5 separate regions of the Homo sapiens genome follow, and regions 1, 2, 3 and 4 are each linked to region 5. The links are contacts of gene promoters, found by promoter capture Hi-C in blood cells and fetal thymus (Javierre and others, 2016). All regions are on one chromosome and are shown on one strand. Each heading gives the region's core, a stretch centred on a gene start or on the middle of the fragment in contact. The rest is flanking DNA. Distances are from core to core; before and after follow the strand shown. Region 1 overlaps CTAG1A (cancer/testis antigen 1A). Region 2 overlaps GAB3 (GRB2 associated binding protein 3). Region 3 overlaps LOC105373387 (a long non-coding RNA gene). Region 4 overlaps GAB3 (GRB2 associated binding protein 3). Region 5 holds the start of SMIM9 (small integral membrane protein 9).

The links. Contacts are between HindIII fragments. The CHiCAGO score rates a contact against its expected background, and 5 or more counts as called.
Region 1: a contact is called between a fragment that was not itself captured here and the fragment with the promoter of SMIM9 in region 5, in 15 of 17 cell types (activated CD4 T cells, total CD8 T cells, naive CD8 T cells and 12 more). The highest score is 13.4, in activated CD4 T cells.
Region 2: a contact is called between a fragment that was not itself captured here and the fragment with the promoter of SMIM9 in region 5, in 1 of 17 cell types (neutrophils). The highest score is 5.4, in neutrophils.
Region 3: a contact is called between a fragment that was not itself captured here and the fragment with the promoter of SMIM9 in region 5, in 2 of 17 cell types (activated CD4 T cells and M0 macrophages). The highest score is 5.1, in activated CD4 T cells.
Region 4: a fragment that was not itself captured here is called in contact with the fragment with the promoter of SMIM9 in region 5 in 2 of 17 cell types (monocytes and activated CD4 T cells); the score reaches 5.6 in monocytes.

Annotation. Positions count from the first base shown.
Region 1 is chrX:154,586,533-154,592,440 of GRCh38, forward strand. It overlaps CTAG1A (cancer/testis antigen 1A), which reads left to right. Exons shown (of 3, transcript NM_139250.2): 3 at 1-284. The coding sequence ends at 132. Among named protein-coding and RNA genes, the nearest start is that of CTAG1A, 4.4 kb to the left of the region's middle. The HindIII fragment of the contact is 2,329 bases long and covers 3,229-5,557 here.
Region 2 is chrX:154,697,357-154,702,674 of GRCh38, forward strand. GAB3 (GRB2 associated binding protein 3) reads right to left here. Exons shown (of 10, transcript NM_001081573.3): 5 at 2,648-2,703; 6 at 1,938-2,157. Among named protein-coding and RNA genes, the nearest start is that of CTAG2, 46 kb to the left of the region's middle. The HindIII fragment of the contact is 5,725 bases long and covers 1-4,144 here.
Region 3 is chrX:154,655,056-154,660,362 of GRCh38, forward strand. LOC105373387 (a long non-coding RNA gene) reads left to right here. Exons shown (of 2, transcript XR_938543.3): 2 at 36-314. It also overlaps the pseudogene OR3B1P. Among named protein-coding and RNA genes, the nearest start is that of CTAG2, 4.1 kb to the left of the region's middle. The HindIII fragment of the contact is 803 bases long and covers 2,804-3,606 here.
Region 4 is chrX:154,677,328-154,683,170 of GRCh38, forward strand. GAB3 (GRB2 associated binding protein 3) reads right to left here. Exons shown (of 10, transcript NM_001081573.3): 9 at 2,805-2,921; 10 at 1-967. The coding sequence ends at 851. Among named protein-coding and RNA genes, the nearest start is that of CTAG2, 27 kb to the left of the region's middle. The HindIII fragment of the contact is 5,748 bases long and covers 813-5,843 here.
Region 5 is chrX:154,831,456-154,836,964 of GRCh38, forward strand. SMIM9 (small integral membrane protein 9) reads right to left here and starts at 3,207. Exons shown (of 5, transcript NM_001162936.4): 1 at 3,108-3,207; 2 at 1,119-1,228. It overlaps F8 (coagulation factor VIII), which reads right to left. Exons shown (of 26, transcript NM_000132.4): 26 at 4,337-5,509. The HindIII fragment of the contact is 2,139 bases long and covers 3,187-5,325 here.

The DNA.
Region 1 (5,908 bases), core at 3,143-5,642, 240 kb before region 5:
ACTGCTGCAGACCACCGCCAACTGCAGCTCTCCATCAGCTCCTGTCTCCAGCAGCTTTCCCTGTTGATGTGGATCACGCAGTGCTTTCTGCCCGTGTTTTTGGCTCAGCCTCCCTCAGGGCAGAGGCGCTAAGCCCAGCCTGGCGCCCCTTCCTAGGTCATGCCTCCTCCCCTAGGGAATGGTCCCAGCACGAGTGGCCAGTTCATTGTGGGGGCCTGATTGTTTGTCGCTGGAGGAGGACGGCTTACATGTTTGTTTCTGTAGAAAATAAAACTGAGCTACGATTCCGTGTCTGAGTCTCTTTTCGGCGAGCGAAGGCACCTTCGGACTTGCATGCCCTTGTCCTCGGGTTGCAGGGGAGGCTCTGGGATTCACAGATTGAAGTAGCACAAGGTAACGGGAGGCAATTTGGGAAATGGGGGAAAATGAAAAGCCACTGGGTCCCGCCATTCAGCATTAACTACTGTGGACATTTTAGAATATTTTCCTCAATATACTTGCATTTATATGTTAAATATATGACAGTAGCATATATAATGTTTTTCCAGGTCAGCATTAAATTTTTTCCCAAATTGTTTTCATTGAACATATGAGCTTTTTTACTTGGGAAAAATTCTTTGAAAACGTACTTGAATAGATGCATAGAACCAGCATTATCATATCACTGTTAAGCATGTGATATGGGTTGGGCATGGTGGCCCACACCTGTATTTCCAGCACTGTGGGAGGCTTGAAGCGGGAGGATGGCTTGAGACCTGCAGTTGGAGGCCACCCTGGGCAATGTAGCGAGATTCTGTCTGTAGAAAAATCATTAAAAGGCCGGGTGCGGTGGCTCATGCCTGTAATCCCAGCACTTTGGGAGGCCGAGGCGGGCGGATCACCTGAGGTCAGGAGTTGGAGACCAGCCTGGCCAACATAGTGAAACTCCATCTCTACTAAAAATACACACACAAAAAAACAACAACAAAAAAACATTAGCCAGGCGTGGTGGTGTGTGCCTGTGATCCCAGCTACTTGGGAGGCTGAGGCAGGAGAATCACGTGAACCTGGAAGGTGGAGGTTGCAGTGAGCCGAGATGGTGCCACTGCACCCCAGCCTGGGCAACAGAACAAGACTCTGTCTCAAAAAAAAAAAAAAAAAAGAAAGAAAAGAAAAGAAAAAATTAGCAGGGTGTGGTGGTGTGTGCCTGTGATCCCAGCTACTTGGGAGGTTGAGGTAGGAGAATCACTTGAACCCAGGAGGTGGAGGGTGCAGGGAGCCGAGATCATGCCACTGCACTCCAGCCAGGTTGACAGAAAAAGACTCTGTCAAAAAAAAAATTTTTTTTTAAATTAGGTGGGTGTGGTGGCAGGCACCTGTAGTCCCAGTTACTCAGGAGGCTGAGGTGTGAGGTGGAAGGATGTGTTGAGTCCAGGAGCTGGATGCTGCAGTGAGCTATGAATGCACCCCTGAGCTCCAGCCTGGGTGACAGAGTGAGACCCTGCCTCTAAAATAATGATAATAGTAATTCAAATAATCTAAAATCTTTGTGAACATGTAATATAACCAAAACACAGGTTCATTCCCTCATCGCTTGGAGATCCAATTAACAAGAGCGTGGTCTGCTATAAAGAAACGGACTTTCTGCCATGCTTGATTTAGGGGAAGACGTACAGGCTCCTGCCTTTAAGGGTGCTGCTTCCCACTGGGGGCAGAAAGCAGGGCCTTTTAAAGGAGGACTTGGCGTGAATGGTAGGCAGGGGAGGGAGCAGGCAGCTGTGGGGTCTGCATGACATGCTGAGGTGTCTTGTCTGCCGGGAGGTCACGCTGGCACCATCTTGGGCAGAGCTAGGTTGGAAAGGGGCTGTTTGTCAAAGCAAAACAGACATATGCTTGAGCTGTGTTCTGGGATGCTCTTAAGTTGCTCGGAGACAACTTGATCCCTTTGAGTTTTGTTTTAGCATTTGCTCGGTGGGAACACAGCAGATTTTAATGTAAGATTAATAATATTAGTTGACAATCTCCAATGCTTGGCAAGGCTGTAGTTGGAAACGAGGACTCATACGCTGTCAGTAGGAGTGGTAGTAACATCTATCTGGACATTTATTTGGCATTTTCTATTAAGGGAAAGATGTGCATACCCTTCCAGCTGTAGGGAAAAGAAAGAGAGATCAGACTGTTACTGTTGTCTATGTAGAAAAGGAAGACATAAGAAACTCCATTTTGACCTGTACCCTGAACGATTGTTTTGCCCCGAGATGCTGTTAATCTGTAACTTTGCCCCAACCTTGAGCTCACAGAAACATGTGTTGTATGGAATCAAGGTTTAAGGGATCTAGGGCTGTGCAGTATGTGCCTTGTTAACAAAATGTTTACAGGCAGTATGCTTCGTAAAAGTCATCACCATTCTCCATTCTCGATAAGCCAGGGGCACAATGCACTGCGGAAAGCCGCAGGGACCTCTGCCCTGGAAAGCCGGGTATTGTCCAAGGTTTCTCCCCATGTGATAGCCTGAGATATGGCCTCGTGGGGCGGGAAAGACCTGACCGTCCCCCAGCCCAACACCCGTGAAGGGTCTGTGCTGAGGAGGAAGGCCTCTTGCAGTTGAGATAAGAGGAAGGCCTCTGTCTCCTGCCTGCCCCTGGGAACTAAATGTCTCAGTATAAAACTCGATTGTACATTTGTTCTCTTCTGAGATAAGAGAAAACCCGCCCTATGGCGGGAGGCGAGACATGTTGGTGGCAGCAATGCTGCTCTGTTACTCTTTACTCCACTGAGATGTTTGGGTGGAGAAAAGCATAAATCTGGCCTATGTGCACATCCAGGCATAGTACCTTCCCTTGAACTTATTTGTGACACAGATTCCTTTGCTCACATGTTTTCTTGTTGACCTTCTCCACACTATCACCCTGTTCTCCTGCCACATTCCCCTTACTGAGATAGTAAAAATAGTAATCAATAAATACTGAGGGAACTCAGAGACCGGTGCCAGTGCGGGTCCTCCGTATGCTGAGCACCAGTCTCCTGGGCCCACTGTTCTTTCTCTATACTTTGTCTCTGTGTCTTATTTCTTTTCTCAGTCTCTCGTCCCACCTGACGAGAAATACCCACAGGTGTGGATGGGGCTGGCCCTCTTCATTTGGCGCCCAACGTGGGGCCTTTCTCTAGGGTGAAGGTGCGCTAAGACCGTGAGCATTGAGGACAGTCGATGAGAGATTCCCGAGTACGTCCACGGTGAGCCTTGCGGTAAGCTTGTGCACACGGAGGAACCCAGGGTAACAATGGGACAAACTGAAAGTAAATATGCCTCTTATCTCAGCTTTATTAAAATTCTTTTAAGAAGAAGGGGAGTTAGAGCTTCTACAGAAAATCTAATTATGCTATTTCAAACAATAGAACAATTCTGCCCATAGTTTCCAGAACAGGGAACTTTAGATCTAAAAGACTGGGAAAAAATTGGCAAAGAATTAAAACAAGCAAGTAGGGAAGGCAAAATCATCCCGCTTACAGTATGCAATGATTGGGCCATTATTAAAGCAGCTTTAGAACCGTTTCAAACAGAAGAAGATAGCGTTTTGGTTTCTGATGCCCCTGAAAGCTGTGTAATAGATTGTGAAGAAGAGGCGGGGACAGAGTTCAAGAAAGGAACGGAAAGTTCACATTGTGAAAATGTAGCAGAGTCTGTAATGGCTCGGTCAACACAAAGTGTTGACTACAATCAATTACAGGAGGTAATATATCCTGAATCACCAAAACTGGGGGAAGGAGGTCCAGAACCATCGGGGCCGTCAGGGCTAAAACCACGATGGCCACCTCCTCCTCAGTCGAGTGAGTGCTGGGGGAGGGAGCCTGAAACCAGGCTGGCTGCAACTCGGCTCGCGGTGCCCATTATTGCCCAACCGGCAGTTCACTGCGGTGAAGGAGCAATTCAGACTCGCCCTGTAGCATCCTGTCTGGGTCAAACAGTGGCCGCTCCCTAAGGAAAAGTTAGGGGCGCTACATAAAATAGTTAAAAAAACTATTTAAAAAAGGACATGTTTCACCCACTGTCTCTCCTTAGAATTCGCCAGTGTTTGTAATTCAGAAAAAATCCGGCAGATGGCGCATGCTAACCGACTTAAGAGCCGCTAATGCCGTAATTCAACCCATGGGGGCTCTCCAACGCAGGCTGCCCTCTCCGGCCGTGATCCCCAAAGGTTGGCCTTTAATTATAATTGTTCTGAAGGATTGCTTTTTTTTTTTTTTTTTTTACCATTCCTCTGGCAAAACAGGATTTTGAAAAATTTGCTTTTGCTATACCAGCCATAAATAATAAAGAACCAGCCACCAGGTTTCAGTGGAAAGTGTTGCCTCAGGGAATGCTTAATAGTCCAACTATTTGTCAGACTTTTGTAGCTCAAGCTCTTCAACCAGTTAGAGACATGTTTTCAGACTGTTATATCATTCATTATGTTGATGATATTTTGTGTGCTGCAGAAATGAGAGACAAATTAATTGACTGTTACACATTTCTGCAGACAGAGGTTGCCAACGCAGGACTGACAATAGCATCTGATAAAATTCAAACAACAGCTCCTTTTCATTATTTAGAAATGCAGGTAGAGGAAAGGAAGGTTAATCCTCAAAAGATAGATAGAAATGAGAAAAGACACATTAAAATATGAAATGACTTTCAAAAATTGCTGGGAGATATTAATTGGATTCGGCCAACCCTAGGCATCCCTACTTATGCCATGTCAAATTTGTTCTCTATCTTAAGAGGGGATCCAGAATCAAATAGTAAAAGAACATTAACTCCAGAGGCAACTAAAGAAATACATGAAAAGAAATACAAAAGCAAATAAGCACATGAAAAGATGCTCAGCTTCACTAATTTTTAAATAATTTTCATTTCCTTCTTTAGCTTTTTATTTTCTTCTTCTTGAGGCAGAGTCTCGCTCTGTCACCCAGGCCAGAGTGCACTGGTGCAACCTTGGCTCACTGCAACCTCCGCCTCCTAGGTTCAAATGATTCTCCCGTCTCAGCCTCTTGAGTAGCTGGGATTACAGGTGTGCACCACCACTCCCGGCTAAGTTTTTTATTTTTAGTGGAGACGGGGTTTCATCATGTTGGCCAGGCTGGTCTCAGACTCTTGACGTCAAATGATCCACCCACCTTGGTCTCCTAAAATGCTGGAATTACAGGCGTGAGCCACCCTGCCCGGCCTCCTTCTTTAGTTTTTAAAGAAAAATTAAAACAATGATTTTTTTTTCCATCTGATTGGCAAAAATTTAAATAATTCCCATCAGTTCAGCAAGGATGTGAGGCTAGCGACACTGTCATAGGCTGTTGATGACGGTGTATATTGGAGGGCAAGTTGGCAGCAATGTAAGACAAGGGTAGAGAAGGGAGGGTCCAGATGGCCGGGGAATCTCCTCTGGCCAGAGCAGAAAGTACTGGAGGAAGAGAAAGGACAGGCAGGTATGCTGAGCACCTTGTCCTGTGTTTTAATTGAGGAGTTTCCTGGGGTCTCACCCTGTACGCTGCAGAGAGCAAGTCAGGACTGTGGAACAGCCTGAGCTGCAGGGAACCTGAAGGAAGCTTTGGTAAAACTTGATGATATGGTTTGGCTGTGTCCCCACCCACATCTGATCTTGAAGTGTGGCTCCCATAATTCCCACGTGCCATGGGAGGGACCTGGTGGGAGGTAACTGAATCATGGGGGCGGATGTTTCCCATGCTGTTCTCGTGATAGTGAATAAGTCTCATGAGATCTGACGGTTTCATGAAGGGGAGTTCCCCTGCACATGCTCTCTTGACTGCCACCACGTAAGATGTGCCTTTGTGCATCCTTTGCCTTCCACCATGATTGTGAGACCTCCCAGCCATGTGGCACTGTGAGTCCATTAAATCTCCTTCCTTTGTAAATTACCCAGTCTTGGGTATGTCT
Region 2 (5,318 bases), core at 32-2,531, 140 kb before region 5:
CTTCCCTGCCTCACTGGGAGTAAAGACAAATACTGAGCAAATGGTCACATTACCTGCTGGAGGTAACAACGTGGCAAGGCATTATTAAGAAGTCTCTGTATATCACGCGTGCTTCTAGGTGTCGAAGGCACAGGATGAATAAAGCAGATGAAAGTCTCTGACCTTGTGGAATTGCAACATCTATTACCTCACACCCGATGTGTCTGAAGTGGAAATGTTACCTTTCTTATCACAGGCAGAGATGATCACCCAGGTCCTAGTCTTCCCCACCTACAATCCATTGTCCACCTGATGATCCTTCTGCCTAGAACATTCTATCCCATCTCTTTGCCTCTAGACAAGATCAGGCCCCACAGCCTGGGCTCTCAAGTTCTTGTACTTACCCTTCACAGCACAGCCCCAGTTTGTGATAATACACTCATCTATGATTTATCTGGACCTAAACTGTGCTCCAGGAGAATAGGGGTGTATCTGGTTTGTTCACTGCAGTAGTCTCAGCACCTAGAAAAGCACTTGGTATCTGCCCCAACCCTTATTCCACCTCAGTGGCCCATCTTCTTGAGTTAGTCCTGGCTCAGGTATCCACCTTTGCATCCACTCATTAAATCTCCAACCCTGAGTCTGTCAGACATCTTCTGTTGCCTATCACAAGGTCCTGCAGAGCTGCACTGTCCATTGTCGTGACAACTAGCCACACGTGCCCATTTAGACATATATGTACATTTATTAAAATTAAATACAATTTAAAATGTAGTTCCTCAGTCACATTAGCCAAATTTCAAGGGTTCAATAGCCATTATCTCCAACATCACAGAAAGTTCTGTTGTTGTTTAATTGTTTCTGACCAGAATTAATGGCTATTTCCTCTGAACCTCATAAGACAGGGTCTGTTCTCCTATTTAGCACTGATTTCATAATTCTATTTCATGGTCCAGGTGGATTTTACATATCTTCCTCCCCCTCAGACTGAAGAACCCTCCTTGCTCCCTCATCTTTGTATCCCACCCAGTGCCCACCACAGCAATACATATGCAGCGCATGCATTGTAAATGTATAAATGTATTTTGACTGAAATTTAAGGGAATATGCCTGGAGTAGACCAGGCATGAGTAGGGGTCTTAGTTGGCAGCTTTGGGCACAGCCACCTGAAGTGACTTTTTTTGCTTTCTAAAGGGCAAAGAGAAGTTGGAATGCACGAGAGATCAGTCATTCTACCAATGCTTCCTTGTAATCACACAGCCAACTGGGAAGGGGAGGATGAGCAAGAATGAAGTTAAAAAGTCACTCTGACCTGCTCTTCCTCTTTCCCTCTTTTCCTATCTATCTCTCTGTCTGTCTGTGCTGCTTAGCAAACCAGAGAAGCTGCCTGGGAGTAAGACAGAAGCTGCAAGGCACCCCGTGCACAGAGGAGTCAGCCTGCTCATTGCCAAAATCCTCTTCTATCCCTGAATACCTCTGCTGACGGGCATGCACAGAACGATGAGTGATAAACTGCATGTGACTGGGTCTGACCTTCAGGAATTGGTGTCAAAGGCTATTCCTGACTGCCTTACAGAGGCTGGCACTATGATTACATTCAAGTGCTGTCTAATGAGGAGATGCCAGGTGGGATTCCATTCTAATCCACCATCACTTATTCCTGGGCCTTTGTTAGGGAAACAGCCAAAGACGAGCCCTCTGGAATGAACTTGGCTTTGTCAGCTGTATTTGCAAGGCCACAGTGCCTGTAAGTCTCCTGACTCCTATTATCATGACAATCTGGGGCAGCAAGGTGCCCCAGCCCTTCCTATTCCAACCCAGCCACTTCTTTCCTGACCTTACACTTTCCGGCCCTCTGGGGTGGTTTCTCTAGGTCTTCCTTTACAGAAACCTTTTCTATGCAACCACCGGAACCTTGCTCCCCTACCCCTGTACAGCAGGCCTGGTCAAGTGCTTACATTTCCTCTGAGGCTTGAGATCTCTATTCACTGGGGGAGGTTCCAGGTTTGCAGGCAGCTCAGGCAACGGGCTTGAGATGCTTCCTGAGTTCATTGGAATGTAGTCATCAGGGCTGCAGTGGGGTCCAAGACCAGAGGCACCAGCCTGGGGGCTCATGGGCACATAGCTGTCTTCGATACTGGCTGAAGCTGTGGGGTACATCGGGGAGAACCTGCATGGCTGCAAAAGAATAGATACAGATTGGGAACCACAGACCAGTCATGGAAACTGCTATCAGAGGGCGGCCAAAGCTGTACATATGGTTTCAGTTCCAAATTATCCAAGTATAACTCTGAACTTCCTCAGCAAAGTCAGACAAGCCTCTAGCTCAAGTTCTGCCTCTGGACTTATCGTTTTAGTATAGGCGATAAGTCTCCAAGATCTGACACTGGAAGACAGAGGGTTATGAGTTTATGCAAATGCTTTAAGCATAAAGTGATGCCTTAAGTAGCTATACCAAGTTGAGCAAGTGTCTGAACCATTAGAACCAATAAGGCCCTTATAGAACACCAAGTCCTGTAGTTCCCAAGCAAGTTCAAGTCTTCAGGGGAGACTGGAAGATTCCTCAGAGACTCAGAGTGCTGAATCTTAAAGATTTCAAGGGAATATACATAGATCAAGCTGTTTTTGGTAAAATTGATGCTTAAAAGAACCTGAATGTTGAACTTACCAAATTCAAACTAAGCCGCTTGTCTCGGTGTCTTAAGGATTGGCCTTCTACATCAGCTGCAAGAAATAAGCCAAGGTGGTGAGAAATGCAGAACAATATCAACTGAAACTAGAGTCCAGAGAGGCAGAGAAGCATAACACAACAGTTGCTATTAGAGTCTAGCTGGGCAGTCAGAACACATTTCCCCAACAGATGAAAAATCAGACCAGATTTTGAAGAAGTTTCTAGCCAATGGTTTGAGTTCTCTCTGTGAAATAGGAGGAGACATAGCAAGTAATTAACAAATTCTTATTGCATTTATTACATAAATCTTCTGAACTGGAGGCAGAACTGGAGGTTTGAGGAGAGGAGAGAGGTTTGAAATATTCCTTGTAACGAGCAGGAGAACAGGGTGAACAGAGAAACGATTGCCTTGTGGAGCAGCATTAAGGGCCCAATTGAGGTCTGTGACCAGAAAAGCTACTCAGGTAGACGCATGGAGAGAAAGGACATTTGGAGTTATCCAGGATTAGAAACTCATCAGATGGATGCAAGAAACAGTGTGATATTAAAATTTAGAATAATTTAGACCATAAGAGTAGATGAAACTATCTAGGTTGCAAGTGTTGAGAAAAATACAAAACTCTAGAGAATCCTAAGACTCAAAGAACTAAGAGATAAGTCAGTGAAGTATCTTGAGAAAGAGCAACCATAGATTAATGAGGAAACTTGGGGGTATGGTGCCATGAAAGCCTCAGGAAGGAAAGAATGGCCAACAGTGTTGAGTGGTGCAGAGAAGTTCAGCAAGTGCTCCCAGCATGTGGTGGCCAGAGCAAAGTGGCCCTCAGCCCTCAGCCCTCAAGAGCTTGGAGGTGTGAAAAGTCAGGAGGCCTCTAAGAAATAAACTTAAAATTCGACAACATCTTAAAATGCAAGGACAACTCCCAGCTCGGAAAAGATGTGACAGAGACTGATGGAATTAAGCATATATATTATATATACATATATGTGTATGTATATATGTATATATCTATGCTTACATATGTTTAAAGATGTACAAGTACTGGTTAAAAACTACTCTGAAGTCAGACTGTCTAGTTATAAATCCCTACACCACCATGTATTAGCTGTATGGCACTAGACAAGTTACTTACCCTCTCTATGTCTCAGTTTCCTATTTGTAAAGTGAAGCCAATAATATAACCTATTTCATAGGACTTCTGGAAAGGACATAGAACACTGCCTAGAACACAGAAAGTACTTAATAATTCTTAGAAACTATTATGGAATAATTTCTCATTGTGGGACTTGCATGTGTGAGCACAAGCCCTTAACTCCCTTTCCACTACCAGACCCTTTTAAAGCCATCAAATAACATAAATATAGAGAAAACTCTGAATCAAAGACATAGGTATAATCCATGTGCCAGATAATTTAAGAGATTTGTGACAGATAGAATGCAGATGGGATCAGAGTAAAGGAAGGCACTTTTTCTCTTATATGACAGCATTCATTGCAAGCTTCCTGAAATGCCCTTGGGCCTTAAGGGAACATGGGCAGACAGTACTCCCCATGGCCTGGGGTGGTGATAGCTATGGAGTGAGGCTCCTCTGCCTTATATTGGGAAAAACCTAAACACTACACAAGAAAACTATTAGAACTAATACACAAATTCAGTAAAGTTGCAGGCCACAAAATCAACATAGAAAAATCAGTAGCATTTCTATATGCCAACAGTGAACAATCTGTAAAAGAAATTAAAAAGTAATCCCATATACAATAGCCACACAAAAACTTAAATACCTAGGAATTAACTTAACCAAAGAAGTGAAAGACCTCTATAATGAAAACTATGAGACAATATTGAGGGAAATTGAAGAGTACACCAAAAAATAGAAAAATATTCCATGTTCATGTACTGGAAGAATCAACATTATTTAAATGTCCATACTACCCAAAGCAATCTACAGATTCAATGCAATCCCTACCAAAATACCTATTAAAGTCTTCACAGAAATAGAAAAAAAATCCTAAAATTTGTATGGAACCATGAAAGACCCAGAATAGCCAAAGCTATCCTAAGCAAAAAGAACAAAACTGGAAGAATCACATTACCTGACTTCAAATTATACTACAGAGCTATGGTAACCAAACAGCATGGTGCTGGCATAAAAACAGACACATAGACCAATGGAACAGAATAGGGAACTCAGAAACAAATCCACACACCTACAGTGAACTCATTTTTGACAAAGGTGCCAAGAACATACACTGGGAAAAAGATAGGCACATAAATAAATGGTGTTGGGAAAACTGGATATCCATACACAGAATAATTAAACTAAGACCCCTATCTCTCACCATATACAAAAATCAAATCTAAATGGATTAAACACTTAAATCTAAGACATCGAACTATAAAACTACTACAAGAAAACATTAGGGAAAAAACGCTAAGGCATCAAACTATAAAACTACTACAAGAAAACATTAGGGAAAATCTCGAAGACATTTGCCTGGACAAAAAAATTCTTCAGCAGTACACCAAAAGTACAGACAACCAAAGCAAAAATGGACAAATGGGATCACATGAACTTGAAAAACTTCTGCACAGCAAAGAATACAATCAACAGAGTGAAGAGACAACCCACAGAATGGGAGAAAATATTTGCAAACTACCCATCTGACAAGG
Region 3 (5,307 bases), core at 1,955-4,454, 180 kb before region 5:
GGACGTAGACCAAACCCTTGGTATTTCGGTAACAGGCACACCCCCAGGAAGGGACCCCGGACACGGCTACCACCTCTAGGCTTAAAGCGAATGCACTTCCCGCATCTCCAGTCTTCCGTGTAGCAGCTTTAACCTATGTATGTCTGTGCCACATCCAGTCCTCAGACGGCTGAGTGACCCCAAGAAAGGCTTCCCCGACACCCAGACAGAGGCTGCAGGGCTGGGGCTGGGTGAGGGTGGCGGGCCTGCGGGGACATTCTACTGTGCTAAAAAGCCACTGCAGACATAGCAATAAAAACATGTCATTTTCCAAAGCAGGCTCCTGCTTCTGCCTCTGCTGCTCTAAGAAGGGGTCAGGGTGCAGGAGGCAGGGGGAACCTCCTCCAGCTGGAGCTGCTGCGGTGAGCAAGGCTCTGCTCTGGAGGCCTCTGAGGCTGGCACCCTTCTGGGGACTGGGAAGGGGGCAGGGAAGGCAGCAGCCCAGGGAAAGCCTCGTCCCCCTGGAGCCGAGGCAGTTGGGGAGAGCAGGACGAGAGTGAGCTGGAGAGCAGCCACACCGATGGGTAAGGGTGGGTGAAGGGATTCCACAGGTGTCTAGAAAACTGGAAAGAGCTCCTTAGCAGGTCCAGGCCCCAGGTGTAGGGGAGGACCAGATGTGGAGGATGAAGACGGTTGTCCAGAGGGATCTCCAGGCGTTGGCATTATTGGGTCCTACTGAGATGCTGTCAAGGAGAAAACACAGGCTGTGTGTGGCAGGGCGACAAATGAGTGCTGCTGCCAAGCTCTGTCCTGTTTTCTGTGCACGTCTCAGAGCCCCTCCAGTGACCGTCATCTCCGGCCTCCTCCTGCGCCTCTGTGTTCGTAGACATCTTCTCACATCTCAGATCCTGCTGAGCCTCTGGGCCCCCTGCACGTGCCTTCTGCCTCTCGGCTGCTGGGGTGGGGACCTCTGTGCCCTGTGCCAGCGCCTCTCCTGCAGCTCACAACACATCTGCTTTTTCTCCTGCGCCCTGCACAGGGTGGGCCTGGAAGCTCTGGGGAAGTTGTACCCTTGGACACAGCCCCCCACCGATGGGGCCAAGAGTCACTGGATAAAAGTCTTAGTCTCTCACCCTTTGAAGGACAACTCTGAGGTGCGGCTGACTGTGGAGCGAATGAAATGAAACGGATGCACGGGGATGGGTGTGGACAAAGGAATGCCGACTTCTCAGGCTGCCGATACATATCTCAGTAGAAGCACGGGGGAATGCTATATAGAGAAATATTTCTATAGTATCTGAAGTGTTTAGAATGTATTGACCTAATATATACACAATAAAAGTAAAAACATTGGAAGAAAATTTAGATGAACTTTATTTGATTGTTGGAATGGAAAAGACTTTTCTCTCTTTCTTTCTTTCTTTCTCTCCTTTTCTTTCTTTCTTTCTTTTCTTTCCTTTTTTTCATTATTATACCTTAAGTGCTGGGGTACATGTGCACAACGTGCAGGTTTGTTACATAGGTATACATGTGCCATGCTGGTTTGCTGCACCCATCAACTTGTTGACCTAGCAATCCCATTACTGGGTATATACCCAAAGGATTGTAAATCATTCTACTATAAAGACACATGCACATGTATGTTTATTGCAGCACTCTTCACAATAGCAAAGACTTGGAACCAACCCAAATGCCCATCAATGTTAGACTGGATTTTAAAACTGTGGCACATATACACCATGAAATATATGCAGCCATGAAAGAGAATGAGTTCATGTCGTTTGCAGAGACATGGATGAAGCTGGAAACCATCATTTTCAGCAAATTAACACAGGAACAGAAAACCAAACACCGCATGTTCTCACTCGTAAGTGGGAGTTGAACAATGTGGACACAGGGAGGGGAACATCACACACCGGGGCCTGTTGGGGGTGGGGGGCTGGGGGAGGGATAGCATTGGAAAAGACTTTTCTAAGCCTACTAGCAATGAGAATAATAATAACCAATAACATTTGTTGGGTGGTCACCATGTCCCAAGCCACTGTTGTAAGCACTAGACAAGAATTGGCTCATTTATCCAGAAATACACCACATTTTCATTGTCGTTATCCTTGGCGGTGAGATAACGGTTGGTTTTTTATTTTCTCTTCCGAACTTGCCCATATTTCCTCTTCTTTTGCAGTGAACATGTATTACATTTATAAGCAGAAAGCGATTAAGAAAGTTATTCATTACTTGCTGTTGAGGAAAATTTCTAATTAGCTCTGGAGTGAGCCAGTTTGCCAAAGTTTAAATTAGCCTGTTCAATTCATTGGAGGCCATATTTTTCCTCTGAAACTTGTTCTAATTGGCACCTTTTCTTGATGTAATGAGGCGGACGGTGCCGTGATGAAGTCTCTGAAGTCACCGAGCCTCGGGGCCCACGCTAGACACCACGGGGCAGATGTCGCCCGGCTCTCCTGGTCATCTCTGTGGCTTTCAGCCGCTTCCAAAAAACAATTGTTTCCAAATTCCACACACACAGTTCATCCTACCTTGAAAGTTATTCCTCCAGAGGGCTGTTGATAGTTTGCTTCATCAGCATTTTGTCACTATTACACACTGAGATTTTTTTTTTCTTCTGCACCTTGGAGGTACTCATGAAGAACACATGTGTGCTTAAACACAAAACCTACCGAGGCCCATAACAGCCCCTCCCCTCCAGAGGGCCGGTCCTGGTCCACACACGCTGGCAGACAGTCTTTGTGTTTCCGAATCAGAGAAGACTTGCTTGGAATGGATGAAATGTATTTGAAATCACATTAGGCATCATCTGGAATGGTGAAGCTTCAGAGGTGACAGGGCCAGGATGTCTATATTCAAAGAGGGCCATTGAATTAAAGTTAAGCAGGGATCTCTTTGCTTGAATTCCAGAGTTTCAAACCAGCACAGTCATGTGAGCTTGGATGGCCTGTAGGTACTTCCAACCCAACCTGCCCCCAGCTGACCTCACTGCCTGTCCCCCGACTCCCGGAATGGCTTCCCTCTGCTTCATTCTCTGTCTTGGCGACACGCGTTTCCATGGTCCCGCACTCTGTCATCTCACCTTCCGTCCAGTCAGTTTCCTTCAATGTGTCCTCTCCACCCTCCCTAGGCCAGGTCGGCATCATCTCTCACCTATATGATGAGAACAATCTCCCCCGGTCTACACAGATTCCCGGCCCCTTTCCTAGGAATTTGGCCTGAGTGGGGCGGTCTAAGTGGGGATGATGTAGGCTGGCCTCATATGGCCCAGGGGGAGGGCCCAGCCATACCTACCAGGGCTGATGAGCACGGCTTGTTTCGCCCTGTGGGGGTCATTGCAGGCTCTTGTGCGGGACTCGGGATGGGGGTCTGTTGGGAAGCCCCGGATGGCCTAGTGTCCTGGCCTTGAGCCTTTGGTCTTCTCTGAGCGCCCACCCGCCATCACTTGAGAACAGTGAAAGGCAGCTGTGTTGACCCTTTGAGCAGCATGTGGCCGTTCCTAGGTTTGGTGGTAGGGGTGAGTGACCCTTTCCTGTGAAGGAATGGCGAGTAACCATTGTATGACAGTGAATTGTCTTAGTGCCTAATAGCCCAGCCTACTTTGTGAGCTCCATAAAGGCAGGAAGCTTGTCTGGAGCTTTTCTGTATCCCCAGTGCCAAACCCCATAATGGGGAGACACGAGGTACTCTCTCATTCTTTCTTTCAAGAAATATTTCCTGGCCGGTGCGGTGGCTCATGCCTGTCATCCCAGCATGCTGGGGAAGATGGGGTTTAGCATGTGAGTGAGGACCACACATAGCACAGAGAGCACCCAGTCGCCCAAGCCAGAGTATGCAGAGTTGGGAAGGATGTAGCAGGGGACTGAAGTGACGTAGAAAAGACCGATCATAGTGAGATGGGCAACACAGGTAGAAAAGGCTTTTCTTCAGCCCTGGGTGGAATGAATCCTGAACAGCAGCCACAACGTGTCCATAGGAGACCACGACCAGGACGCAGTGTGCAAGAGCCACCAGAAAACTGAAGAACAGGGCAAGTTCATTGGTACGTGTGCTGAAGCAAGAGAGTCTGAGCAGTGACGGAGGTCGCAGAAGAAGTGGGTGATGAGGCAAGGCCTGCAGAACTTGGGTAGAGCTGTGAGGATGCTGTAGGTGAATGCGTTGGCCAAGGCCAGCAGGCAGGAGATGGAAGTGAGGCCCGTGTGGGTCAGTCGGCCCACGAGGACAAAGTAGTGCAATGGCTGGCAGATAGCTGCATAGAATCATAGGCCACGGCTGTGAGGAGGAAGGACTCCTAGGGTGCCAGGAAGTGGAGAAAGCATATCTGGATGAGACAAGCACAATAAAGTACGGGCCCTACCTGAGCCAGCAAATGCACCAGCACCTGAGTCACCATGTTGGAGATACAGGCGGCATCCATCAGCGAGTGGCCGCCCAAGAAGAAGTACATGGGAGTGTGGCGTCGGTAGTCCACTGTGAACATGTGGCTCCCAACCACAACCACTATGTAGATTAGCAGAAAGGTGGTGAACAGCAGGGGCCTCCAAGCCTTGCTGTCCCTCAGGCCTTTCAGAAGAAACTGGGACACTAGGGTCCCATTCCGCAGCTGCTTGGAACCACGCACAGAACCCTGCACCTGTAGTATGCAACTCAGAGTCAGATGAGGGTCTAGGTGTGGAGTCCCAACTTACAAGGGGGGGAGGGGATGAGGGATGGACTAATGACTAGGTAGGCAGGTTTCAGATTTAATGGAGGAAGACTTGTTGGTTCAATACAATGAGGAGCCTCAAATGGCCAGGCAAATCTTTCATCTCCTGTTGAACAGAACCTTTTTTGGGAGAAAGTGATGGGGATCAGCCTTTAGGGTATCCATAGATGGCTTTGCTGGCAAAACTGTGGCAGGTGGGAGGGCAGATACATATACAGAAAATGTCTCTATTCCTGGGACAAAAATCCTCCTGCTCCCTGAATGAGAGAATGGGTCCAATATAATCCACTTTCCACCAGGCAGCTGGCTGCTCCCCTTGAGGTGACAACCTAATAAGCGTTGCTTTACGTTGGGTACACGGCAGAAGTACCCAGATCAGCCTCGGTGTGGTGAAGACCATGTTGTGTCATCCTTCCCGTAGCTGTGTCTCCAGTCTCCCTGTTTGCAGAGTCAGCCCAAGCTGTGTGGAAGCCTGCGGCCACCAGCTCGTGCATACCTACCTATCTATGTGTCCAAAACTAGGTCTGTCAGCTCAAAGACATCAGGACAAAAGACACCAACCTGTCTTGTCTGTGAGGAAGGTGTTGGGGGAGGAAGAGGGTGCCTGGTGTCTGGAGTGG
Region 4 (5,843 bases), core at 2,437-4,936, 150 kb before region 5:
TGTCAAAATCCTCAGAGGAAGTATGAGGTAGAGGAATGAGCTTGCAATTGGCAGCCTGAACAACTCTATTCTCTAAGCTGGACTCTGGGTCTTGGCTTTGTGAGTAATCTTGGGCAAAGTGTTCCCTCCTCTAGTTCTCAGTGTTCTTTTCTTCAAAGTGGCATCAACAGTCTCTTCCAGGCCTATCTTCCAAGGTCTTTCGGAGAAGACACGAGACGATGCGTGGGAAAAGGCCAAGAGCAGCAGAATACCTGGCTACAGGTAGCTGCTTAATTGCAATATCCTTAGAGCCACCAGTGTCATCTGATATACTTATCTCAGAGCCTGAGATCCATTGCCCCTGTCACTTGTCTTTCTTTGGGTATTGAAATGACTAGTCTGCTGAAGTCTGTGGAGTAAGATTCTGCCACCATTGCTGGGCTTGATCTCCTCAACTGTCTTCAGAGGCTGGAACAAGATGGTCTCCAGAGGCCCCTTTGCTAGGATAATTTATCATTCTCATTGAAGCACAGGAGAGAAGTCAGAATTTCAGGTATTGGAGTCAAACGATAAAATCCTGTTGGTGGCAACACTCACTCCAATCTTTGCTCCAATAGGACAGAGGGGAGGCTAGATTCTCTCAGAGCCCCCTCCGGAAGGCAACTGCTTCCTTCTTTTCTTCCTTCAATGTATAAACAGGTCTTCTTTCCTAAAGGTTCTGGCCAAGACCTTGAAAACTACACATTCTCTCTTGGTTTTGACCTGTGTTGACCATCAGTGTGTTTTTAGTGGACAAAAAAAAAAAAAAAAGAAAAAACTCAAACTGAGCCCCAAGCTTCCCTGTTTCACACATGGCACAAGCCCGCACCTCTCATACTTTGGATTGCCTTTCATCCGTCCACTCCTGTTTTGTGCTCTGGAGAGCCTGTGTCTTCTGCTCATCCACTTGGACATAGTCTACTCTTTGTTCTTCTGAAAGGAGAAGTTTCTGAAGGAGGAGAACAAAAAGGTTTTCATTACATCTAACTTAAAATGTCAGGAAAATGTTTACCCTTTTGTATTAAATTGTTAAATATTTGTTGCCCTTTCCTCTGTGTGGAAACTTTGTACTTTGTATGTGTGCTTGTGTGTGTGCACGCACGTGCTTCTGCTTCCCTCAACTTTGCTCTAGCCACTTGACTTGCTTTGATCAATATAATGTAAGTGGAAGTGACATGGCCTGGCATGGCGGCACGTGCCTGTAATCCCAGCACTTTGAGAGGCTGGGATGTGGTTTGGCTGTGCCCCCACTCAAATCTCATCTTGAATTGTAGTTCCCATAATCCCCATGTGCCCTGGGAAGGACCTGGTGGGAGGTAATTGAATCAAGGGGATAGTTACCCTCATGCTGTTCTCATGATAGTAAGTTCTCAAGAGATCTGATAGTTTTATAAGGGGCTTTCCCCATTTCATTCTGCACTTCTCTTTCCTGCCACCATGTGAAAAAGGATGTGTTTCCTTCCCCTTCCACCATGATTGTAAGTTTCTTGAGGCTTCCCCAGCCACGCTGAATTGTGAGTCAATTAAACCTCTTTCCTTTATAAATTACCCAGTCTCAGGTATTTCTTCATAGCAGTGTGAGAATGGACTAATACAGAGGCCAAGGCAGGAGGATCACTTGAGCCCAGGAGATCAAGATCATTTTTTATTAAAAAATAAAAAACAGCCGTGGGTGATGATGTGCAACTGTAGTACCAGCTACTTGGGAGGCTGAGATGGGAGGATAACTTTAGCCCAGGAGATCGAGGCTGCAGTGAGCTATGACCATGCCACTGCACTCCAGCCTGAGTGACAGAGTGAGATCTTGACTCAAGAAAACAAAACAATAATAACAAAAAGGAAGTGACATGTTCCAATCCTAAGGAGAAAGAGGTATTCTGTGATTCTGCAATCTCTCTTTTTCCTCTGCCAGGAGGCCAGCACACTTCAGATGGGGGCTGCTTCTCTTGCCTCGGCCCTGGACTGGAGATGACCTGGAACACAAAGGCTCTGGCCTGCAATAAAAGAGCCTTTGTGTTGAAAGCAGATGAGATTTGGGGGTTGTTTGTCTACCAAAACTGACTAATGCTCCTTTTATACTTATTGCTCCCACCCTTCTTACCAGCTTTTCTCCAGTCTCATATCAGGTTTTTGGAACGATATTAAAAGTAGAAAACAAGTAGGAGTTACCTCAGCAAAAGAGGAGGAAAGTCCTCAGTTGTTTCCCATGCACTCATTCCTTACGCTGTACAGTGGGTGATACTAGTTCACAGATATGATAACTTACATGTATTAACTCAATTAATCCTCACAACAGCCCTTGACATAAGTGTTGTCATTTCTGATTCCCATTTTTCAGATGAGAATTCTACCCAAAGGGGTAGCTGCCCAACTCAGCATTCAAGGCCCCTTACTTCCAACTTACAGTTCTTTCCACTGCTCCCTCAAGTCTAACCAAACTAGACTATTACTTGTTCCCTAAACAGGATGTTCCTACACCTGGAGGGTCCTCTACCCGACCCTCATTTCTGCCTGAGATATTTTTCTATAAACTTTTTGGTCCAAATTTTGAAGTGTGAATATCACATCTATTTATACATACACACACAAAGAACACACCCTAGAAGGAAATACACCAAGATTTCATTCTCTCTGGGAGGCAGGATGAGGGCCGATTTTAATATTCTTCATTATACATGTCTGCATTTTTAACACTTTCTAAGGAGAATATGCATGGTTTGATAATCAGAAAAGTCTAGGCAGAGATGGAATCACCTGGGAATTCTTAGACACAAAGCCCTTCCTACCTGCTGCATGGGGGCTGGTGATGCTGAATTGAAGTCCAGGGCCAAATAATCTAGGCTGAATTTCTTTGTCCACGTAAGGGCACCACTGCTCAGGGAACTGGCTGTTCGGTGCTCCTCCTAGGAACCAACATCACAGGAGTCAGGTTAATGATGTCTATCTTGGTTGCTCAAGGGAAGGAGGGCAAGTTGTGGCTTCACCCAAGCAGCTGCCATCAGATCGTAACAGAATAGTCTGATGAGACCTGAGTCAATCAGCCTGCATATCTGAGTGAGAACTGTAATTTCAAACAGAATATAGCCAATTTGGCCTTCGCAATGAAACCATACCATTATTCACCATGGGAACAGTTTGCCAAAATTCACTCAAAAAGGAATTTGCTTCACGAATCTGACAGGCCTGTGATACTTCAGAGATTAAACCCTAACAAGATCAACTATACTTATTAAAGTTCTCGTGAAGGCATCCCAAATGCACTTAAATATAGTTTGCACAATACAAACAGTTATAACACAGATGAAAATCAGGGCCCAGCTTCAGAAGTGCAATGCTACCAATCCATATCTTTGAAGCTGTTTCCCCTGTACCATCTTTCCTTCTCCTCCCAAGAGGTAAAGCACTATCTTGAATTTTGTGCTTACCACTCCTTTTACTTTTAAATATAGTTTTATGAGTATGCAAGTATCCTTAAATAACAGACTATTTCATTTTGCCTGTTTTTGAATGTCATATCAACAGAATCACATTGTATGCATTTTGGGCGGCTTCAGTTTTGTGTTCAATATTAGGTACTCCACATTCACTTGTGTCGAAGCATTAGCCCTATTTCACTCATTTGCAGTGGGTCAGATATTCCATTGCATGACTTATTTAATCATTCTGCCATCAAAGGATATTTGAGTTGCTCCCAGTTTGGGGGCTATTGTAAGCAATGCTGCCATGGGCATTCATGCACCTGTGGGAGAAATTCTAGGGCATTTACTTGGGAATAGAATCACTGGGTTATAGGATATGAGTATCTTCAACTTTACTAAATATCACCAAACTATTTTCCAGAGTGAACCAATCTACACGTGTACCAGGAGTGTATAAGAATTTCTATTGCTTCCCATCCTGGCCAACACTTGGTATTGTCAGAGTTTTTAACATTTTTCCTACCTGAGACAGGTAAAATGGTATCTTACTGTGGTTTGATTTTCCATTCCCCTGATTATTAATTAGTATGAGCACCTGTTCATATGTTGAAAGGTCATTTGTTTATTTCTCCTCTGTGAATTGCCTGTTTGGGTTTGTTTTGTTTTTTGGGTTTTTTTTTTTGCCTTGTTTCTGGTTAATTTTTGTATTGAATTATTTGTATATTTTTCTTACTTACCCTTAGTACTTTTTCCTCTGCCCTGGAGAGTAATCATTTGCTATCATGTATGTTGCAGATAGCTCATCACAGTCTAGCTTCTTGTCTTTTCATTTCTTTTTATGGTATTTCTTTTGACTAAGAAATACTTTTAATGTAATGTCGATCTTTTCCTGTATGGCTTACATTATGTTTAAGGAATCCTTCCCTATGCTGAGGTCATAATTTATTTCTCTATATTTTTCCTGAAATTATAATGTTTTGCAATAATTTGCTTCACGTTTAAGCAATAATCTCACTTGAATGGATTTTAATATTGTATATGGTGGTGCAATAGAAATAAAATTCATTCCATTTTTGTTGTTGTTTTTACTCAACATGGATAACCTGGTTTCCCCCAGAATGTCTTGCGTGATCTTGACCCTTTTAGAATCAGCTTCAAAGTTCCTCAAAAATCTCTGTTAGGGAATTGGTTAGATAATGTCTTTAATATTTGAGTCTTCCTATTCAGGAACATGGTCTACTTTTCCACTTATTTCATTCTCCTTAATGTCTTTCAATAAGTTTTAATAATTTTCTCCACAATATTTTTTGTTAGGTTTATCGCTAAATGCCTAGAGTTTGTTGTTACTGTAAATGGTAAGTTTTGTTTAAATTCTTTTTTCTGTTTGTTACCATTATCTAGACAGTGAACTGGATTGTGTATATTGATTTTATATCCATCAATCTTGATATCTTTTATTAATTGTAATTATTTATTTTACTAACTTAGTAATTCTAATTATTTCTAAGTAGATTATTTCGAGTTATCATTCATATAAGCAGATTATTTTGAGTTATCGCTTCATCTAAGAATAATCACTCTTTGTCTTCTTCCTTCCTTTCCAATTCTTATTCATTTTGTTTCTTTAGGAGATGTTTTTAGCTTTTAACCACTGAGTATGATATCTACTACAGGTTCTATAAGATTCATTTTTCATTTGTTATGAGGTTAGAGAAAATTCCTCTATTCCTTGTTTACTAATAGATTTTTTCATGAATAGATGTTGAGTTCTATCAAATGCTTTTTCTGCATCTAGTAAGATAATATATCATTTTTCTCCTTTAATCTGTTAATGTGCTTGGTTGACTTAATAGATATTCCTGGTTTATGGTTGTAATAGCTCATCTCTCTGAGAATATTGGTAATAATAGAGTTTTAAAAAGGCTTTTCCTAGCTGGGCGCAGTGGCTCACACCTTTAATCCCAGCACTTTGGGAGGCCGAGGCGAGCGGATCACTTGGGGTCAGGAGTTCAAGACCAGCCTGGCCAACATGGTGAAACTCTGTCTCTACTAAAAATACAAAAATCTGCCAGGCATGGTGGCGCATGCCTGTAGTCCCAGCTACTTCGGAGGCTGAGGCAGGAGAATTGCTTGAACCCGGGAGGCAGAGGTTGCAGTGAGCTGAGATTGCACCACTGCACTCCAGCCTGGGTGAAAGAGTGAGACTCCGCCTCACAAAAAAATAAAATAATAAATAAATAAAAAGACTTTTCCTTCTGGCATAGTTCTTATTTCCTCCAATCTGTTTTGATTTCAATCTTTCATGCTAGAGTTCTCCTGAAATGTCACATGAAATCACTGACTGTTGCTTATACTTACGAGCGAAAGACCAAAAAGCTAACGTGGAGCTTTGTGTACATGGATGGT
Region 5 (5,509 bases), core at 1,957-4,456:
CTTTTTCTCTCATACACTTTATCCATCAGAAAAGTCTAGTCACCTTTACTTACAAAACGTATCCAGAATCCTGCCACTTCACACCACCTCCACTGCTACCCACCATCATCTCTGTCTTTCTGCTTCCGTCCTTGCCTCCCTTAAGCCTCTTCTCCAGTGAGTGGCCAAAGAGATCTTGGTAGGTTGTAGGTCAGATTATGTCCTAGTTACTGCTGACCACATATCCTATGAGTCTCCTCTTGATCATCACTCCAACTTAGCCTCATTTCATTTTGAACAAGCTAGGCATGTTCCTACCTTGGGGCTTTTTAACTTGCTTTTCCCTTTCCAGGGAATGCTTTTCCCCCAGGTATTCTCAGAATTTATTTCCTCACCTCTGTCAGGTACTCAAATATCACCTTCTCAATGAGGATTTTCCTTAGATCCCATTGTTAAAATTGTACCACCCTCCTACAAACTTCCTAATTGTCTTACCTGCTTGATTTTTCTCCAGAACCTCATCAGAACCTAGTAGAATATATTTTACTTTACTTTATTATATGTATCTCCTGAATATAATGTAAGCTCTATGAGTGCAGGGATTTTTGTCTGTTTTGTTCACTGCTAAACAGTACCTAGCACATAGGGTATCCAGGTGCTCAATAAATATTTTTTGAATGAATGGCGACTTTTGGCAGATATTGTTCCCACCCATTTTTCATTTACTACATCCAACTAGATAAGCTGAAAAAGCTGAATCCTCCCTTTCTTAGCCATCCTTGAAGTTAGGCATGGCTATGTGACATAGCTCTGGATAATGAAACATAAGGGAAATCTGATGGATAGCTTTTGGGAAGGCTTTTTGCTGTCTTGATAAAAGAGATGGTGCTACCATTTTCCCTTTATGCTGCCTTGAATATTGCTTAAGAAATGTTGCCTGAAGTTGCTCTGATAATTTCAAGCCACTAAACTAACACCTGTATCTGCTTACTTCTGGACTGCATGGTATGAGAAAAATATACTTTTATTTGAGCCATTATAATTTGGGCCTCCTATTACTTAAGACATTTATAACTGATACACTCACCTACTGTTTGATACGGCTTAAAGAGACCCACATCCAGCGGGAAACCACTTACCTGAAAATGGACTTAGGACCACGGAATTCAAAGAAACCAGTGGAATTAGGCCTTAGTCTTTAGAGGGCAGAAGTCTTCAGAAGAAGCTGGTCAGTCTTCTCCTTAGGTCTCTGAAGTTCCAAACAGAATTCCACCACTCCTTATGATATCACTGATTACATTTAACCCTCCCCCAGTCTCCTTATTTGACAGCTAAGCACACAGACATCATTTTCTCTCTATGTATAAACATCTGTGTTGATACCAAAACCCATCCTTGCAGTAGTTCTATCCTCTTAGGCTTGAATAATTCTAAGATATTTTATTCACCACATGGTATCTAACTATGCATTATAATAACATATATATGTGGCATTTCATATCAGGGAAAAAGACCTTATTTAATATGATGTTGGGTGTGAGCCCTTTGCCATGCTATGCAAAATAGAAATTCTAGATGGATCCAGGACTAAACAAAAAATAAAATTATATACAAAATATGACATTTTCTGTCATACTTTTATGATAGAAAATTCTATGTGTGGATATTTTTATAATCTTGGTGCAGAAAAAGCTACTCTAAGCATGTCATAAAACCCAAAGCCATAAATGAAAATGCTGATAAATTTATAACATAAAAATGTAAAGCTTTCATATAGCAAAACATTGTTTAAAAAAGATAAAAGGTTAATGACAAATTAAGTAATTTCACAGCATATACGACAGACATTCAATTAAGATTGTTAACGTACAAAGAACTCTTACAAACTAATTAAAAAGAAATAGTACTGGCTAGGCACAGTGGCAGACGCCTGTCATCCCAGCACTTTGGGAGGCTGAGACAGGAGGATAGCTTGAGCCCAGGAGTTCGAGACCAGCCTGAGCAACATAGCGAGATCCTGTCTCTACAAAAAATTTAAAAATTAGCTGGGTGTGGTGGTGCATGCCTGTAGTCCCAGCTACTCGGGAGGCTGAGGCAGTAGCCTGGCTTGAGCCTGGGAGATTGAGGCTGCAGTGAGCTATGATCATGCCACTGCACTCCAGCCTGGGGGACATGAGGGGCTTAAAACCTAGATGATGGGTTGATGGGTGCACCCAACCACCGTGGCACATGTATACCTACGTAACAAACATGCATGTTCTGCACATGTATCCCAGAACTTAAAGTAAAAAAAAAAAATGCAAATCAAGTCGAGGCAACATAGCAGGATACTGTCTCTACAAAAAATAAAATATTAAAAAAATTAAAAAAATAATACTTATCCATAGAAGAACTGGCAAAAATGGTATCTCAGTTAGGTTCTATCAGAAAACAGAGCTACCAGGAAATACATAAAATGAAAGTTTTTGTAGAGTCCTCCAGTCTCCCCCAGTTTCTTGCTGTGTCATGCTAGAAAATCATGGAGTGGCTTGATCATTCTGTGACCCAGCCAACAGGCCTGAATGAAAATTAGGACCTTGAACATTCCCAGGCGCTGATAAAGGTGTATCTAGGTTGTGACCCGAAACACTGGAGGAAGCTGGCCCTGGCCCTTGAGCCAAATTCCTCTAAACCCTCATATGAGCTCCATACCCTGACCTTTCTGTGGAAGGAAAGGTGAGGTGAAGTGGAGAAAGCAAGTATACACTGGAAGCCTGAAAAGAGAAGAGCCCATGAAATGGACTAAAACCTGCATCAGTCTCATGTTATCTCCAAGCTTCTAACTTCGATGGTGGAGTAACATGCATGAGAAGGTCAGGTGTTTTCTGAAAGAGCTAAACACACAACTTTTCTAGGATTTGGAGAAGCTAAAAGATCCAGCAGGAGCTGGAGGACCTGCAAACTTGGTCACTGTCCTGTGCCCACCAGGTAACCCCACAAAATAGTGACAATGTGAATAAGCTGAAAATGAGCATTGTATGCCTGTCTGACTTTTCCATTGTAAAAAGAATATGGCTGTCATATAAGTTAACTTTAGCTGAATGAAAAATGACCTCCAACTTAGCAACTGTGAAGAAAACATTTATTACCTTATAGTTTCTGTAGGTTAGTTTTGGAGTGGATGATGAGATTGGAGTCATGTATCTGCTGGGACTGCAGTCATCTGAAAGCTTGACTGTACTGGAGGATCTACTTCCAAGATGGTGCACTCACATGACTATTGCTAGGATGACCAAAAGTCCCAGCTTGCCTGGGACTCAGGATTGGCTTCATGGGAGTTTGATCTATGCAGGTCTACAGGGCCCCACACCCTGAGGGGCCCTATGTTTCGTTTGCTCTGATGTCACTGTCTCGAAATTCTTAATAATTTTATCTTTGATCTTGTGTTTTGTAAGGGAAGTTTAATGAGACCGCCTATTTCATCACACTCATTTTCTCCTCCCCACTGACTTTGCCAACATTCTTCTCCCTTTGAGTCTCACTGAACTCTGATGCATTGTGGGTCCACTAGAATGTTATGCTCATGGGCACTGTATACATTCTTTGCTATTCTATTTGCACATAGTGTTTACAATGCATTTTTGCATTGTTGTAAAACTGTAGTAAGAACACAACGTGGTATCTGCTCTCTTAACAAATTTTTAAGTGCCCAGTATGGTATCGTTAGCTATATGCACAATGTTGTACATTAGATCTGTAGAACTTAATTCATCTTGCATAACTGAAACTTTTTTTTTTTTGAGATGGAGTCTCACTCTGTTGCCCAGGCTGATGGAATGCAACGGCACGATCTTGGCTCACTGCAACCTCCACCCGCCTCCCGGGTTCAAGCGATTCTTGTGCCTCAACCTCCCAAGTAGCTGGGACTACAGGCATGTGCCACCATGCCCAACTAATTTTTATATTTTTATTAGCGACGGGATTTCGCCATGTTGGCTAGGCTGGTCTTGAACTCCCGACCTCAGGTGATCCGCCCGCCTTGGCCTCCCAAAGTGCCAGGATTACAGGCATGAGCCACTGTGCCCAGCAGCATAGCTGAAACTTTATGCCCATTGAACAGAAACTCCCATTTCTCTCTCAGTCTCTCTCTCTCCATATAAGCTGTTCTCCTGGATTGAGGCTCCATTTCTGATTTATTTTATTCAGACTCTCATGAATTATATCATTTTTACTCTGAGTTCAATTTAATCTGGTTTTCTAACTCACTAATTTGGTTTTCTAGAGTGTCCATCTTGCTATTCAGTGCCCCTATTTGTTTTAAAAATCAGTGTTCACATTTTTATTTCCAGTGTAAAAACACAATTCTCAAAGGCATTTGTTTGTATGTGTCAATGTTTTATTTAACTCATTACTGAAGAAACCAGCAGGAAAATAAAAGAGCTAGTTCCATGAACATTTGAGAAATAGAGATGTATATAGTCAATGGGAAAAGAATGCCAAAATAAGATTATCAAGTTAAACATAACAGGAAATAAAACCATATCACCTTTGGGGTTAACTCCTCTACCGGGCTATAAAACAAAACAACTTATTCATTTCTGTAAGTTAGCCTCTAAACTTTAAGAACTTCACAGGGCTATAAACCATTTGCACCTGCATCATTTGTGGATTGTGACTATACTGTGACAGCTATGTTATAGTTTCCAAAGAGGTCAGATAAGGGTCAAGCAGGATTATTAGAAAATACTCCAGCATAGAAAAAAGTAGCCATTCTTTTGCCTTTTCTCAGATTGGGATCCATTTTTCTTTCATATTAGGATCTCCTGTTTTCCATTTGCCCTGGGTTGCAATCTTTGGATGCTTCCTCCAACTGCTCTATAACTTATCCTTGTCTCCAGCCCCCTTTACTATCAGGAGATTCTGTGTAGTCATAGTGAAGGGGTCAGGCAGATGGAAGGAGCAGTAAACCCTTCACAATCTTATGGGGGTGGAGGGCAAGAAGGGGGATCCTATTGTGTGGTGATATGGCAGACTGGAGTGTTTTTTCTGTTTTCACCAGTCCAATTTTCTTCTGACCTCCTTGATATTTCAACTATGTAAGTAGGACTCTAGTTTTCAGTCACGGTATATAATTTCCCCTGTTACATTTTTGTTGTGTTATTTTCAGCAGGAAATTAGTAGAGGGAGAGAGTAAACTGAGTGCATTATTAGAATTACAAAGTTTGTATCTCCTATCTCAGATAACCATGGATTTTCCTCATATTTCCACAGAAATATTAAATGTATGTCCTTTAGAAGCCTAATGTCATCATCATTTTCTTTCTTGGCCATCACAAATTTCAAGAAGACATTGTTATTTTATTTCAAAGCTTTCAACAATTGCATCCTCCTGACTTATTTTTTTATTGGTCAGAATTAAGACCAAATGGCTTTATATCTATGGACACTCGTCAGAAAAATGCACATTTGCATTTATACAGAATGCCTTATATAATTTCAGGGGACTTAGGGATTCTTGAACCCCATCTATAATTCTCAGTTTAAGAATGCT